3 separate regions of the Homo sapiens genome follow, and all the other regions are linked to region 3. Evidence: promoter capture Hi-C in 16 types of primary human blood cells and fetal thymus (Javierre and others, 2016). All regions are on one chromosome and are shown on one strand. The core of a region is centred on a gene start or on the middle of the fragment in contact, and the rest is flanking DNA. Distances in the headings are between cores, read along the strand shown.

Region 1 (4,199 bases), core at 127-2,626, 180 kb before region 3:
AGAGTGGGCTGCTACCAACCTGAACCTTGCCATTGGGTGGAAGGGAGAGTTTTGTGGACCAACTGCCACTAAGCCATGAAACAACATAGGTGTGGCTCTACCTGGCAGCAAGTCTCACCAGGAAAGGTTTCCGAAAGAGGGAGGACTGGGGAGAGGGCAGGGTGAAGTCCTCCATGTGATGGGACCAGGAGCCCACAGACCACCGGGAGGCCCAGCCAGGGGCTGTGGGAGATGGAGCTGTGCTGGAGCCACTGCTGAGTGGGTGATGGGTGGGGCCGGAGCAGCGCCGTATGCAAAGAGAGAGGAGCTAACAACTCTGCAACCAAAGAGCAACTAGAGAAAAGAAGCCTGTCTTTTATTTGTGGATTTGTGACTTTACGTACCTACTTTGTCACAAAAAGAAGATTCTAGGAGGCTTACAAAATTACAAAAATGCACACAATACAATGTGATTTTTAGTAGGTGAGGAAAACATAAGATGAAGCAGAAGTCAAAATATATGCCCTAAGTCCTCAATGTGTACTGTGTGATGTAGTAGTAAAATTGACTCTGAGTTCCCCGGCAGCCAATGTGAAAAGGAAAACACACCCTGCCTTTGAATTTACAAGGAGCATGGGATAAAACTAACAAGCTGCTGGGAGACACTGGGCTACAGCTACTTCTGAAAAAGAAGAGGAACTTCTTATCAGGATCATGTTGACAGTGTCAGCATGAATAGCAACTGGACAGTGTCCCAGCACACACACAGGGATGCCTCTGGCCCATTTTAATCATAGCATCCCTGGGGACAAGAGGTTGGCTCAGGCCCCCTGCAAGGGATAAGCTGAGGTAGAGGGGCCTGCAGCTGTCTGGTGGCTGCGCCTGAAGAGGCTTGAGCACAGCTTCGAGGGTGAGGCATAGTGGAATCCAAACCTTGCAACTCCCATGGGGATGGGGACTTTGCAGAATCCCACAAGATTCTGCAAAGTCCCCGTCCCCCGCTCCTGCCCTCCTTCCAGTTGGAACTAAGTTACAGAAGCACCCACTTGGAGCCTGGTGCTCAGACTTGGCTGCAAGCTGCAATCACCTGGGAGTTTACAAAGTTACTGGGCGCTGGGTTCCACCCCCAGTTCTGACCTAATCTGTCCGGGGTGCGGTCTGGGCATGAAAAGTTTTTCAGGCTCTCCAGGTGATTCTCGTGTGCAGCCAAGTTAGAGAACACTGACTCCCGGGGAGGTGGATTACCTGTCCTCCCGGCAAAGCGCAGGACTCGCAGTTTGGCAAGCTTCCAGCAGCAGCGAGTTCGGGTGGCTCCGTGGGGAGCCTTACCCCAAGGCGACAGCTGGGTGGAGGGTGCCCCCCAACAAGCCGTGGGGCTGAAGGGAAGCCACCCACCTCAGAGCAGGGGTTCACCATCAGCCATGGGGGTCCTCAAAAAATAATGTGGGTGGGCTCTTCTTCTAAGCGCCAGTTATATAAGTGATCTGGACCTGTAATTTTATTCCTTAGATAAGCTTTTCCCCAAGATTGTGTTCTGCATGGCGCTCATTTCATGATGGTGTGAGTCAGTGGCACGCCAGAAGATATGCCATGGCAAAGAGGCTGTGGAGCCCGTGGCAGCCAACATTAAGCAGAGATTTTTCACAGCCAAAGATGCTGACTCAGCTCTCGTGCCCGGTTCCCCAAACTCTGGGCCATGAAACCCTATTTTCCAGATCTAGTGTTTTTCAGGAGCTGGTTTCATGGCACTGTGTTCTACAGCCTATTCATTGAGAAAGGCTGCTGTAATAATTTCAGCCAAACCTGATTATTAAAAAAAAAAAAATCATTAATTAAGGAGCTCTAGGGGCCAACAGAAGCAGAACACCAAGCTTTGGATACAGAGGCTTCCTGAAGGAACCTTGGAGATAAAGTAGCTGAAACATGTACCCGCAGGTAACCCAATGAGTCGAATCAGACTTGTTAGCGCTGTGTTGGCTAAATGTTGAAAGAGGTTTACTAAAAATGACAATTCACGTTTTGGAACAATTGAATCTATGCCATTCTTTCTGGCAGTAGTCCAATCCTAGGTCCAATCACCTGTTTAAGGAGATTTTCAGCTGGTGACAAAATAATTCCATTAATAAGACTTAATATTTTTAATATAAGGAAAAAAATACTATAAATCAACAGAAAAGGACAAAGGACAAGAAAAAAAAACAATGGAAAAACTAAGAAATGCAGGCAGCCAGCAGAGGCCTGGTGAATAGGCTGGGTTATGCCACAGTAAAAAGCATCCTCCCCAAAGCTGAGTGACTTAAACCACAATGTCTGTTTTTTGCTCACGCTCCGTGGCAAGTGAGAGTCCCAGGCCTTTCTTCCCATCAGTCTAGAGCAGAGGCTTTCGGAGGCTCAATCTCAGCCTGGGCTCTAAGATCTCAGGAGGACCAGGGACAGTGGAAGGAGTGAACATTTACTGGCTCTTAAAGTTCCATCCAGAAGATACACACACTGCTTTCACTTGCACCCCCTTGGTCAAAAAAGTCCCGTGACCACACCCACTCTCAGAGCTGGTGAGGAGTGCAATCTTACCTGAGCCCTGGAGGAGAAACCAAATTCAGTGGGAACAAAGACGACATCAGAACAACCAGGAGACACTGTGCAATTGTTTGCCAAAGTTGACAAAAGCTAAAGCAAAAGTGAATGGAACCTTGCCTTTAGGCAGTTTATCTTTTTAGCCTTTTGGTGGAGAGAAGGGAAGAGAGAGGGCTGGGGACCTGGGGAGGAGTGGGGACATCCAGCTCAGTGCCAGGGAAAGTGATGTCAGGCACAGGTTAGGGAAGGGCAGGGCAGAACACCTCTCGCTGGCTCTGCTGGAAGGTCACTCATGCACAGTGGTTCTCATTAGGATTAGGATGCAAGCACCTTAGAAGCACCCTTTGCCTTGCGGATGCCTGTGGCTAATCCTCACGCAGAGAGAAAGGCCGAGGGAAGGTCAGGACAAACAGCATATCCTCATCTTCCCCCTGGGGTTTTCCAGGACCGGATGATAGGACAATAGTCAATAACAGGAGACCAAGAAGCAAAGACCACCTATGCCACGGAAGAAACTTGCAATGTATGAATAAGGAAAGTGGCCATTGCAGGAATTATCCAGCCCAGGCGTCAAGGTGTCTAGGAAGACATGAGACCTACGTGAGTAGGCGGTGCGGTGGGGTTAGGGAGTGTGGCTGTGGTTTATGAAAATGAGCTTCTGATCAGAGGGGCCTTATCTAGAGAGTCAGCAAAGCAAGGTGAGTTAGAGGCCAGGGTCAGAGCCGCCCTTCAGGGAGGCCCCGAGGAGTCTCAGAGGCTGGGCCCTGGAGCCCAGGTGGGCACATTGCCAGGACCCAGGCGGACAGACACTGGGATGTGTACATTTCAGGGGAGCTGGTCTCAGCTTCTAGACCTGAAGAAAGCCGTCAGCCCTGACCTCACCACCCAGATTCTCATTCTGCCCTGGTACTAGAACATTGACCCAAACACAGACAGAAGAGAGGAGAGAGGGCACTGGGAAGAAGCAGCTAGAGGTGGGAAGGATGGGGGGAAGGTGCTGCCAAGAAAATGAGGCGTTTCTGGAAGGTGGTGGTCTTCATGTCAAAGCCAGCAGAGCCAAGTACAAATTGGGCAAAAGACCCACCTGGGTGTCCTCTGCAAGACAGGGCTCCGGGAGTAGCCAGGACAAAGGGCACAGAATTCCTTACAGCAAGAGCAGTTTCACTGATTTACTAATAGGTCATATTTAGCGAGCATTGGCCCGCACTGGTCATAGGCCGTGCACTGAGCTAGGTATTGGGGAAGTGGTTTGTCCACTCGTTCATTCATTTATTCATTCATTCCATGGGTTTCTTGCGCATCCACTGTGGGCCAGGCGCTGTGCTAGGTGCTTGGAATGAGGCGGTGAACTGAGTAGATACAGTGTCTGCCGCAGACTCCATTCTCATAGAGGAGACAGACAGGAAGTGCGTAAACCTGTAATAGGATAGAAAAATGGGGTACAAGGTGACAGGGTGGTCACGGAGTCATAGCGGTTAGTGTTTCCTAAGCACAAACTCAGTACCTTGAATGTGTCAAAGCCATTTTCATCCTCACCGCAGGAGAAAGTTCTGTTATTTCCCCCATTCCACAGAGGAGGAAGCTAAGTCACAGAGAGCCAAGGTGACCTGCCCAGGGTCCCACAGCTCATAAGGGGTAGCCTGGGA
Region 2 (4,181 bases), core at 953-3,452, 200 kb before region 3:
ATGAGATCATCCTGGACTAGGGTGGGCCCTAAATCCAATAACAAGTGTCCTTATAAGAAGAAGAAAGGACAAAGAGAGACCGGGGAGAGGGTCTGCTGCGTCAAGCTGGCTTTGAGGCCGAGCAAGGAGCCAATGACCTTGGGTGGACCTTGGCCACACCTTGGCTGTTGACCCCGGCCCAGGCCCACTGCTCCCACCTCTTGCTTTCCTCAGAGAGGCCCATGAAGAGCAAGGCCACATGATGATGGAGGCAGAGGGTGAAGCGATGAGGCCACAAACCAGGGAACGCCAAGGGCGGCTGAAGCTACCAGAAGAGCCAGGAGAGGAACCAGGGATGGGTTCTTTGCCTTACAGCCCTCAGAGGCGCCAACCCCGCTGACACCTGGATCTCCATTCCTAGCCTCCAGAACTGTGCAAGAGTACGTTTCTGCCTCTTTCTGTAGGAAACCACCCAGGGTGTGGTGATTTGTATGGCAGCCCCCGACACTCTGGCAAGCTCCATCCCAGCGTCCCCTCCTCCCATCAGCTGTGACCTCATGTTCCTCTCCTGGACTCTGTTGGACTCATGGCAAGAATATCTCAATAAACGCATGTTAAAGGAATGATCTGTCAGGGGTGCTTCACCACCTCATGCTTCCATCTGAAGACTCAGCTCCTCCCAAGGGCTTATCTGGATGGTTCATCCAACTTCTTGCAAGCATAATAAGAGCAGGAAGCCAGGTGTGTAAGAATGATGTACTGATCAGGATTCTGGTTAGGCTATTATAGCAAAGACTGCAAAATACAGTAGCAGAAGCCTGGCTGTTGATTTCTTTTTCCCACAGGAGCCCACATAGTCAATCCAGGACAAATATGGCAGCATGGGCTGGGCATGGTGGCTCACGCCTGTAATCCCGGCACTTTGGGCGGCTGAGGCAGGTGAATTACCTGAGGTCAGGAGTTCCAGGCCAGCCTGCCAACATGGCGAAACCTTATCTCTACTAAAAATACAAAAAATTAGCCGAGCGTGGGGGCAGGCACCTGTAATCCCAGCTACTTGGGAGGCTGAGGCAGGAGAATCGCTTGAACCTGGGAGGCGGAGGTTGCAGTGAGCCGAGTTCGCGCCATTGCACTCTAGCCTGGGCAACAAGAGCGAAACTCCATCTCCAAAACAACAACAACAAAAACCAAACAAACAAAAAACAAAAAACAAATATGGCAGCATGATACTGGTCACCCAGGCTCTGTCACACCTGAGGGTTGCCCTGTCTACGAGGGCCAAATTGACCCATGCCTCATTTATACCCCAGCCTGTGGAAGGCGGAGAAGAAGGGAAAAGCTCATTGGTCAGAGGCAGGATGTGGCCACTGCAATGACTCCTTCACTCACAGATCTATCATGTTGCCCAGCACCATGGAGGATGGCTCACAGTCCATTCAGCCAGGGTATGGCATGGCCGGACCTAGCCACAAGAAGGCTGGGAAATGAAGCTTTCGCCAGGCACCCGCCGCCCAGCTCAATCTGCTCTCTGTAGAGCAGTTCTCAAAGTGTGGTTTCAGGAGGTCTGAGAGGTTGCAGTTAATTTCATGAAGACACTGAGGCATGAATTGTCTTTTTTCCTTTCATTCTCTCTTCATTCTCTCATGACTGTGCAGTGGAGTTTCCCAGAGGCCATAGGACCCATGATGACACTGTCACTCTGAGAGCTAACAGAATGTATGCTTGCAGAATCATGCATTTTACAAATTTCTATGTTTTCATTTCTAACTCAGTAAATATCAGTAGATAAAACCCATATCAACAAAATCTCTCTGGGGTCCTCGATAACTTTTAAGAGGCAAATGGGTCCCAAGACCAGAAATTTTACAAACTGCTGAACTAGAAGGTTAAAAACAGATACTGGGCATTAGGCTGGCAGAAATAGATGCTACAGGCCAGGCAAGGTGGCTCATGCCTGTAATCCCAGAACTCCAGGAGGCCGAGGTGGGTGGATCAACTGAGGTCAGGAGTTTGAGACCAGCCTGGCCAACATGTTGAAACCCCGTCTCTACTAAAAATACAAAAATTAGCTGGGTGTGGTGGCGCATGCCTGTAATCCCAGATACTCAGGAGGCTGAGGTAGAAGAATCGCTTGAACCCAGGAGGTGGAGGTTGCAGTGAATGGAGATCACACCACTGCACTCCAGCCTGGGCGACAGAGTGAGACTCCATCTCAAGGCAGGCGGATCACCTGAGGTTAGGAGTTTGAGACCAGCCTGACCAACATGGAGAAACCCCGTCTCTACTAAAAATACGAAATTAGCCAGATGTGATGGCGCAAGCCTGCAATCCCAGCTACTTGGGAGGCTGAGGCAGGAGAATCACTTGAGCCTGGGAGGCGGAGGTTGCGGTGAGCTGAGATCACACCACTGCACTCCAGCCTGGGTAACAAGAGCGAAACTCCATCTCAAAAAAAAAGAAAAAAAAAATAGATGCTACAACTGGAAATCTACATGAATTTGTCAGGCCGCCCCCTGCTGCATACTCATGGCCTCACGAATCTACCTGGGAGACCAGAGTCTGGCTCATAGAAATTTGGGAGCAGGTACATTTCTCACCAGTTCTGATCCTAACCACTGCAGCAATGAGTCAGTGCCTGCCCCAGTGTTTAGTGATCTGCCCGCATTTTTTTGCTGAAGCCTCCTCACACCAGTCCCTGTGGGCGTGCAGCACCTGGGTGTGCCTTTCCCCTATGGCATCAGGCAGAGATAGGGTCCAGTCCTGGTCTCGCCACTCCCAAATTGTGGGACCCTTTGCAGATTACTCTGAACCTCAGTTTTCTCATCTTTAAAATGGGGCTCATCAAGGGGTCACAGGAAGCTGTTTGCACAGTTCTAATTTGGAAGTTCCATAAAAGGTCACCCCAGCCATGCTCAGGGTAGGTGTGTTGGCAGAGAAGTCCCTGCCGGGGAAGAGTCAAGCTTCTGAAACACTCCGGAATCTCACTCTGCATCTCACCAGCCTTCCATGACTCCCCAGGGCTTGGGACACCTCCTCACTTTGGCATTCGAGGCCTTCCTCATCCTGGCCTCAACCCACCTTGCAAAAGCACTTTCTAGACAGCTTTGAATTCTGGCTTCTGCTGAGTCTAATTTTCCCGAGTAGGGGGTCTTCCCCTGAAGAGCAGGCCCATTCTGTCAGCCACACAATCACTTCATCTGGGGAGGTGAGGCCGGAAGCTGGCCCATTAACCACGCTCTCCCCAATGAGCATTTGTAAACACATGCCTTCTTTATAACATCAGCAAACAGAACATGTTTTCCTACTTAACAGGAAATGCAGCGGAATGGCTGGGTTCCCCGACAGGGGCCCCAGCCGCTTCATGCACGTGGCATATGAAGCTAGGACAAGGCCAGTGACCAAGAGGGGTGGCCAAAGCCCTCTGGTTTGCAGGCGAAGTTCCCAGCAGTTTGCACGTGTCCGCCCCCCCCAGCACTGGCCAGGAAGGGGCCCCACCTCCTCCCACGGCCCTGTCTTTGTCCCCAGCAGGGCTGCCTGCTTACACGGAAAGGCTGCCGTTCTTTCCCTGGAACTGGAATCAGCCCGGGCTATAGGCAAAGAAATTCATTTCTAACTATGCAAGCCCTTTCACTGTCACAAGACCTTGAATGTCAACCTTGGAAGCCCAAGGGCTATTGTCAGGAGCTCCAGCCAAGCCTCAGATTGACACAATTGCACCAGAACCCTGAACAGTCTGGGGGAAAGAAAAAATCCCCTGCTCCTCCTCCCTCGGGGGGAGGCGGCCCCCGCAAGGTAGGCGGTGGCTGCAGGCAGCTGAGGCTGCGCCATTCATGGCTGCAGGACCGAGGCCCCACGCGGAGCGGAGACCAGGCGGCCACAGCCGCTGATTGGGCGTCGCGGCCGGGGGTTCAGCCAATCGGCTGTTTGGGAAGCGGGGCCATTCATGAAAGCGCAGCGGAGAGGAAGCGCGGGGGCGGGGAGCCCGGGTTATCACCGCGCCCCGCCAGCCCCATCACGGCCGCCGTGCCTTCTGCCGGGCCATGCTGCGGCTCGAGCGGCGCTGGCTCCTCGCAGGGAAGACCCCGGCCAGAGGCTGCGGAAGAGGCCAGGCTTTCTGGAAGCGCCTCCCAGGCAGGGCCTGGCAGCCGAACGCCGCTTGCTTCGGTCAACTGTGGCCATGAAGTCATTTTTTTCCCCTGCTG
Region 3 (4,852 bases), core at 690-3,189:
AGTGGGCGAGCCTCTTTATGCCCTGCTGCCCCTAGCCGACTTCGGCCCGCTTCGCGCCTCGGGCTGGGCCAGGGCGCACGCGGGGCTCGGGGCCCCTCGCCCCACGGGATGGGAGAGGCCGGGTGATAGCTCCGGGCCCCATAAATCATCCAGGCGGCCGCCGGGTCGGGATTTTATGAATGAAAAAGCAGCTGGGCCGCCCTTGTGCGCGGGCTGATGCTCTGAGGCTTGGCTATGCGGGGGCCAACGCGATTGTGGGTGCTCGGGGAGTGGGGGGGGGCACGACCGTAGGTGCTCCCTGCTGGGGCAACCCATCGCTCCCCATGCGGAATCCGGGGGTAATTACCCCCCCAGGACCCGGAATATTAGTAATCCTAATTCCCGGCGGGGGAGGGGGCGCGGGAGGAATTCACCCTGAAAGGTGGGGGTGGGGGGGGTCGCATCTTGCTGTGAGCACCCTGGCGAAGGGGAGAGGGCTTTTTCTATCAGTTTTCTTTGAGCTTTTACTGTTAAGAGGGTACGGTGGTTTGATGACACTGAACTATATTCAAAAGGAAGTAAATGAACAGTTTTCTTAATTTGGGGCAGGTACTGTAAAAATAAAAACAAAAGTTAAGACAGTAAAATGTCCTTTTATTTTTTAATGCACCAAAGAGACAGAACCTGTAATTTTAAAAACTGTGTATTTTAATTTACATCTGCTTAAGTTTGCGATAATATTGGGGACCCTCTCATGTAACCACGAACACCTATCGATTTTGCTAAAAATCAGATCAGTACACTCGTTTGTTTAATTGATAATTGTTCTGAATTATGCCGGCTCCTGCCAGCCCCCTCACGCTCACGAATTCAGTCCCAGGGCAAATTCTAAAGGTGAAGGGACGTCTACACCCCCAACAAAACCAATTAGGAACCTTCGGTGGTCTTGTCCCAGGCAGAGGGGACTAATATTTCCAGCAATTTAATTTCTTTTTTAATTAAAAAAAATGAGTCAGAATGGAGATCACTGTTTCTCAGCTTTCCATTCAGAGGTGTGTTTCTCCCGGTTAAATTGCCGGCACGGGAAGGGAGGGGGTGCAGTTGGGGACCCCCGCAAGGACCGACTGGTCAAGGTAGGAAGGCAGCCCGAAGAGTCTCCAGGCTAGAAGGACAAGATGAAGGAAATGCTGGCCACCATCTTGGGCTGCTGCTGGAATTTTCGGGCATTTATTTTATTTTATTTTTTGAGCGAGCGCATGCTAAGCTGAAATCCCTTTAACTTTTAGGGTTACCCCCTTGGGCATTTGCAACGACGCCCCTGTGCGCCGGAATGAAACTTGCACAGGGGTTGTGTGCCCGGTCCTCCCCGTCCTTGCATGCTAAATTAGTTCTTGCAATTTACACGTGTTAATGAAAATGAAAGAAGATGCAGTCGCTGAGATTCTTTGGCCGTCTGTCCGCCCGTGGGTGCCCTCGTGGCGTTCTTGGAAATGCGCCCATTCTGCCGGCTTGGATATGGGGTGTCGCCGCGCCCCAGTCACCCCTTCTCGTGGTCTCCCCAGGCTGCGTGTGGCCTGCCGGCCTTCCTAGTTGTCCCCTACTGCAGAGCCACCTCCACCTCACCCCCTAAATCCCGGGGGACCCACTCGAGGCGGACGGGGCCCCCTGCACCCCTCTTCCCTGGCGGGGAGAAAGGCTGCAGCGGGGCGATTTGCATTTCTATGAAAACCGGACTACAGGGGCAACTCCGCCGCAGGGCAGGCGCGGCGCCTCAGGGATGGCTTTTGGGCTCTGCCCCTCGCTGCTCCCGGCGTTTGGCGCCCGCGCCCCCTCCCCCTGCGCCCGCCCCCGCCCCCCTCCCGCTCCCATTCTCTGCCGGGCTTTGATCTTTGCTTAACAACAGTAACGTCACACGGACTACAGGGGAGTTTTGTTGAAGTTGCAAAGTCCTGGAGCCTCCAGAGGGCTGTCGGCGCAGTAGCAGCGAGCAGCAGAGTCCGCACGCTCCGGCGAGGGGCAGAAGAGCGCGAGGGAGCGCGGGGCAGCAGAAGCGAGAGCCGAGCGCGGACCCAGCCAGGACCCACAGCCCTCCCCAGCTGCCCAGGAAGAGCCCCAGCCATGGAACACCAGCTCCTGTGCTGCGAAGTGGAAACCATCCGCCGCGCGTACCCCGATGCCAACCTCCTCAACGACCGGGTGCTGCGGGCCATGCTGAAGGCGGAGGAGACCTGCGCGCCCTCGGTGTCCTACTTCAAATGTGTGCAGAAGGAGGTCCTGCCGTCCATGCGGAAGATCGTCGCCACCTGGATGCTGGAGGTGCGGGGCTTCGGGCGGCTCTCTTAAGACTTCCCTGCAACTTGTTGCCCAGACCCACGTTTCTTTGCTACTCACCCCCCTCCCTTCTCTCCCGCTAGAACTTTGAAGTTTGCCGTGGTGTTTCTAGGGATCCGTATTTTCAAAATAAAAATTGCGGGTATTTTCTGAAGGAGGAAGGGGTGGGGGTGGGGGTGCTAGAAGTAGCGTTTCGTGGGAGGGGAGAAGGGGGTCCGGGAGGGGTGCCTTCGGGAGAAGCCAGTGCCAGGGGCACCCCAATGGGCCCGAGGGTGCGGGCTGGCAGGCTGGGTGCGCTTTGTGTCCCCCGCCTGCGCCCCAGCCCGGCTGCGCCTCAGCGGCCGGGAGCCGCCAACTCCGGGGGGAGGGGGCATAGATTTGATTTTTAAATTAATATCCATGGACACGTATGCAAGGGCCGCTCGTGCCAGTATTATGCGCCATCTTTGCTCTTTTATTGCAAAGCAAAAGTGTTTATTAATAATTGGGGGCAGGGTGGGGGCGGGGAGCGGCCGCCGGGCGCTGGGGCCGCAGCTAAGGGCCGCGCGGCTGCCGGGAGCCCGCGGGAGGGGCGCAGGGACGCGGCATGGGTAGTTTTGGGGGGACGCCGCTAGGGAAGGGGGGGCCTTTGTTCAAGCAGCGAGTCCCGGGGCGCCCCGAACGGGCAGCCTGGGCCGGAGAGCACGGCGAGCTGCAAGGTCGCGTGGCCCCCAAGACGCCAGGGCTTGATCCCCGTCTGCAGGGATATCGGCTTGGAGGACCTTCTCCGAGCGAGCCGGGGGCCTGGGAGCACATTTTCAGACCTTCGGTGGGCGCCTGAGGGGCCCGCAAGTATTTTAAAATAATTTTTGAAAGTGCGGCGTGGTGCCCTTGCGAGAGGGAAACGCCGCCCGCGCCCAGGGGGAAGGGGGGGCCCCGGAGTTTGAATTCCTGGGGCTCCCCCCGGAGCCTGTAACGAACTCCCAACCCCCGGCCTGGGTAAAGGGTCGCCCGAGGGTCATTTTCAGGGTTTTTTTATGCACTTAGTTATTTTTTTAATATTTTTAAATATTTTTTGAAAAGATGACGTCTGGGGAAATGCGGCGCGGCGGCCTGGGACGCCACCTTTGTGTCTCGCAGGCGCGGCGCCCAACCCCGCGGCCCGTTCCGCGGCCCCGCACCCCAGTTGGTGTCGACCCCCAGTCAGAGGGACCACGGAGCTCCAGGGCGGGCCAGGGTCCCGGGGGCCGGCAGCCCGCGCCGCCGCGCACGCCGCCCAGCTGTGCCCGCTCCCGCCCCCACCGTGCCAGCCTCGCGGGGACTTTCCCTTTCAGTTTCGGGGAGGGTGGGTACTGGGGACGCGCGGGGGAGGGGGCGCATCACGGGAAGCTCCTGCCGCCCCCAGCCCCGACCCCTCGGCGCCCTCCAGACCTGGCGGCCCTGCCAAGCGCGATGGGGGGTGCGGGGGCGTGCGGGGGGGCGGCGCGACCTGGCGGCGGCGGTCACGGGCCCCGTGCCTCCGTAGGTCTGCGAGGAACAGAAGTGCGAGGAGGAGGTCTTCCCGCTGGCCATGAACTACCTGGACCGCTTCCTGTCGCTGGAGCCCGTGAAAAAGAGCCGCCTGCAGCTGCTGGGGGCCACTTGCATGTTCGTGGCCTCTAAGATGAAGGAGACCATCCCCCTGACGGCCGAGAAGCTGTGCATCTACACCGACAACTCCATCCGGCCCGAGGAGCTGCTGGTAACCACTGGACCCCGCCGCCCCCCGCCCCCCGCGAGCCGCACGCAGGACCACGGGGCCGGGGAAGGTGCAGGCGGTGGCGGCCGGCCCGCCTCTGACATATCTGCTCCTCCGAGGGAGGGCGGCCCCGCCGCCGGGCGTCCCTGTCCGGGGAGCGGGCGGGATCCTAGCCGCCCTCGTCCCGCCGCCCTGTGTGCGCTTGCCTGCGACTCCCACCGCGTTCGCGCCCCGCGGTGTGGCCGAAAAGTGGGCGGCGCGCGCCCTCCAGCGGCTGCACGAGGAGCGCCGCGCTCGGCGCTGAGCCTCCAGTTCCAGGTGGTGGGAGGTCTTTTTGTTTCCACTTGCAGAGTCTTTTCACGCGGCGGGCGCCTTTTCTGTTTTGATCTGGGATTGCGTGTTGCCCCAGCTCCCTTGAGTCCCCAGCATTCGCCAGCCCTCCCCTCCAACATCCAGGACCGCACGAGACGCAGGGGCCAGTGCTCTGAGCCGGAGGTGCGGCGTGGCCCGGCCCCCGTGCTGCCGGCTTCCCCGCGCCCCCGGGCTGGCCCGCACCTCCCCTGATGGCCGCTCACCCTGTGTTCGCAGCAAATGGAGCTGCTCCTGGTGAACAAGCTCAAGTGGAACCTGGCCGCAATGACCCCGCACGATTTCATTGAACACTTCCTCTCCAAAATGCCAGAGGCGGAGGAGAACAAACAGATCATCCGCAAACACGCGCAGACCTTCGTTGCCCTCTGTGCCACAGGTAGGGCAGGCCCGGCAGCCCCCGGCCTCCCCTTGAGAGCCGGCTCCTTAGGTGACCCTGGCCGGCTTCTTGCTCTC

What was found. Contacts are between HindIII fragments. The CHiCAGO score rates a contact against its expected background, and 5 or more counts as called.
Region 1: a fragment that was not itself captured here is called in contact with the fragment with the promoter of CCND1 in region 3 in 1 of 17 cell types (M1 macrophages); the score reaches 6.3 in M1 macrophages.
Region 2: a fragment that was not itself captured here is called in contact with the fragment with the promoter of CCND1 in region 3 in 2 of 17 cell types (endothelial precursors and M1 macrophages); the score reaches 5.7 in endothelial precursors.

The regions. Positions count from the first base shown.
Region 1 is chr11:69,464,601-69,468,799 of GRCh38, forward strand. No RefSeq gene overlaps it. Among named protein-coding and RNA genes, the nearest start is that of LINC02747, 13 kb to the right of the region's middle. The HindIII fragment of the contact is 229 bases long and covers 1,263-1,491 here.
Region 2 is chr11:69,439,634-69,443,814 of GRCh38, forward strand. The region is part of intron 1 of LINC02952 (long intergenic non-protein coding RNA 2952); the gene reads right to left. Among named protein-coding and RNA genes, the nearest start is that of LINC02952, 3.2 kb to the right of the region's middle. RefSeq lists an enhancer at 1,489-1,678 and a silencer at 3,937-4,026. The HindIII fragment of the contact is 1,470 bases long and covers 1,468-2,937 here.
Region 3 is chr11:69,639,217-69,644,068 of GRCh38, forward strand. It overlaps CCND1 (cyclin D1), which reads left to right and starts at 1,940. Exons shown (of 5, transcript NM_053056.3): 1 at 1,940-2,295; 2 at 3,815-4,030; 3 at 4,616-4,775. The coding sequence starts at 2,098. RefSeq lists enhancers at 1-703, 2,211-2,913, 4,432-4,852 and silencers at 3,536-3,675, 3,766-3,825, 3,956-4,215. The HindIII fragment of the contact is 14,749 bases long and covers 1-4,852 here.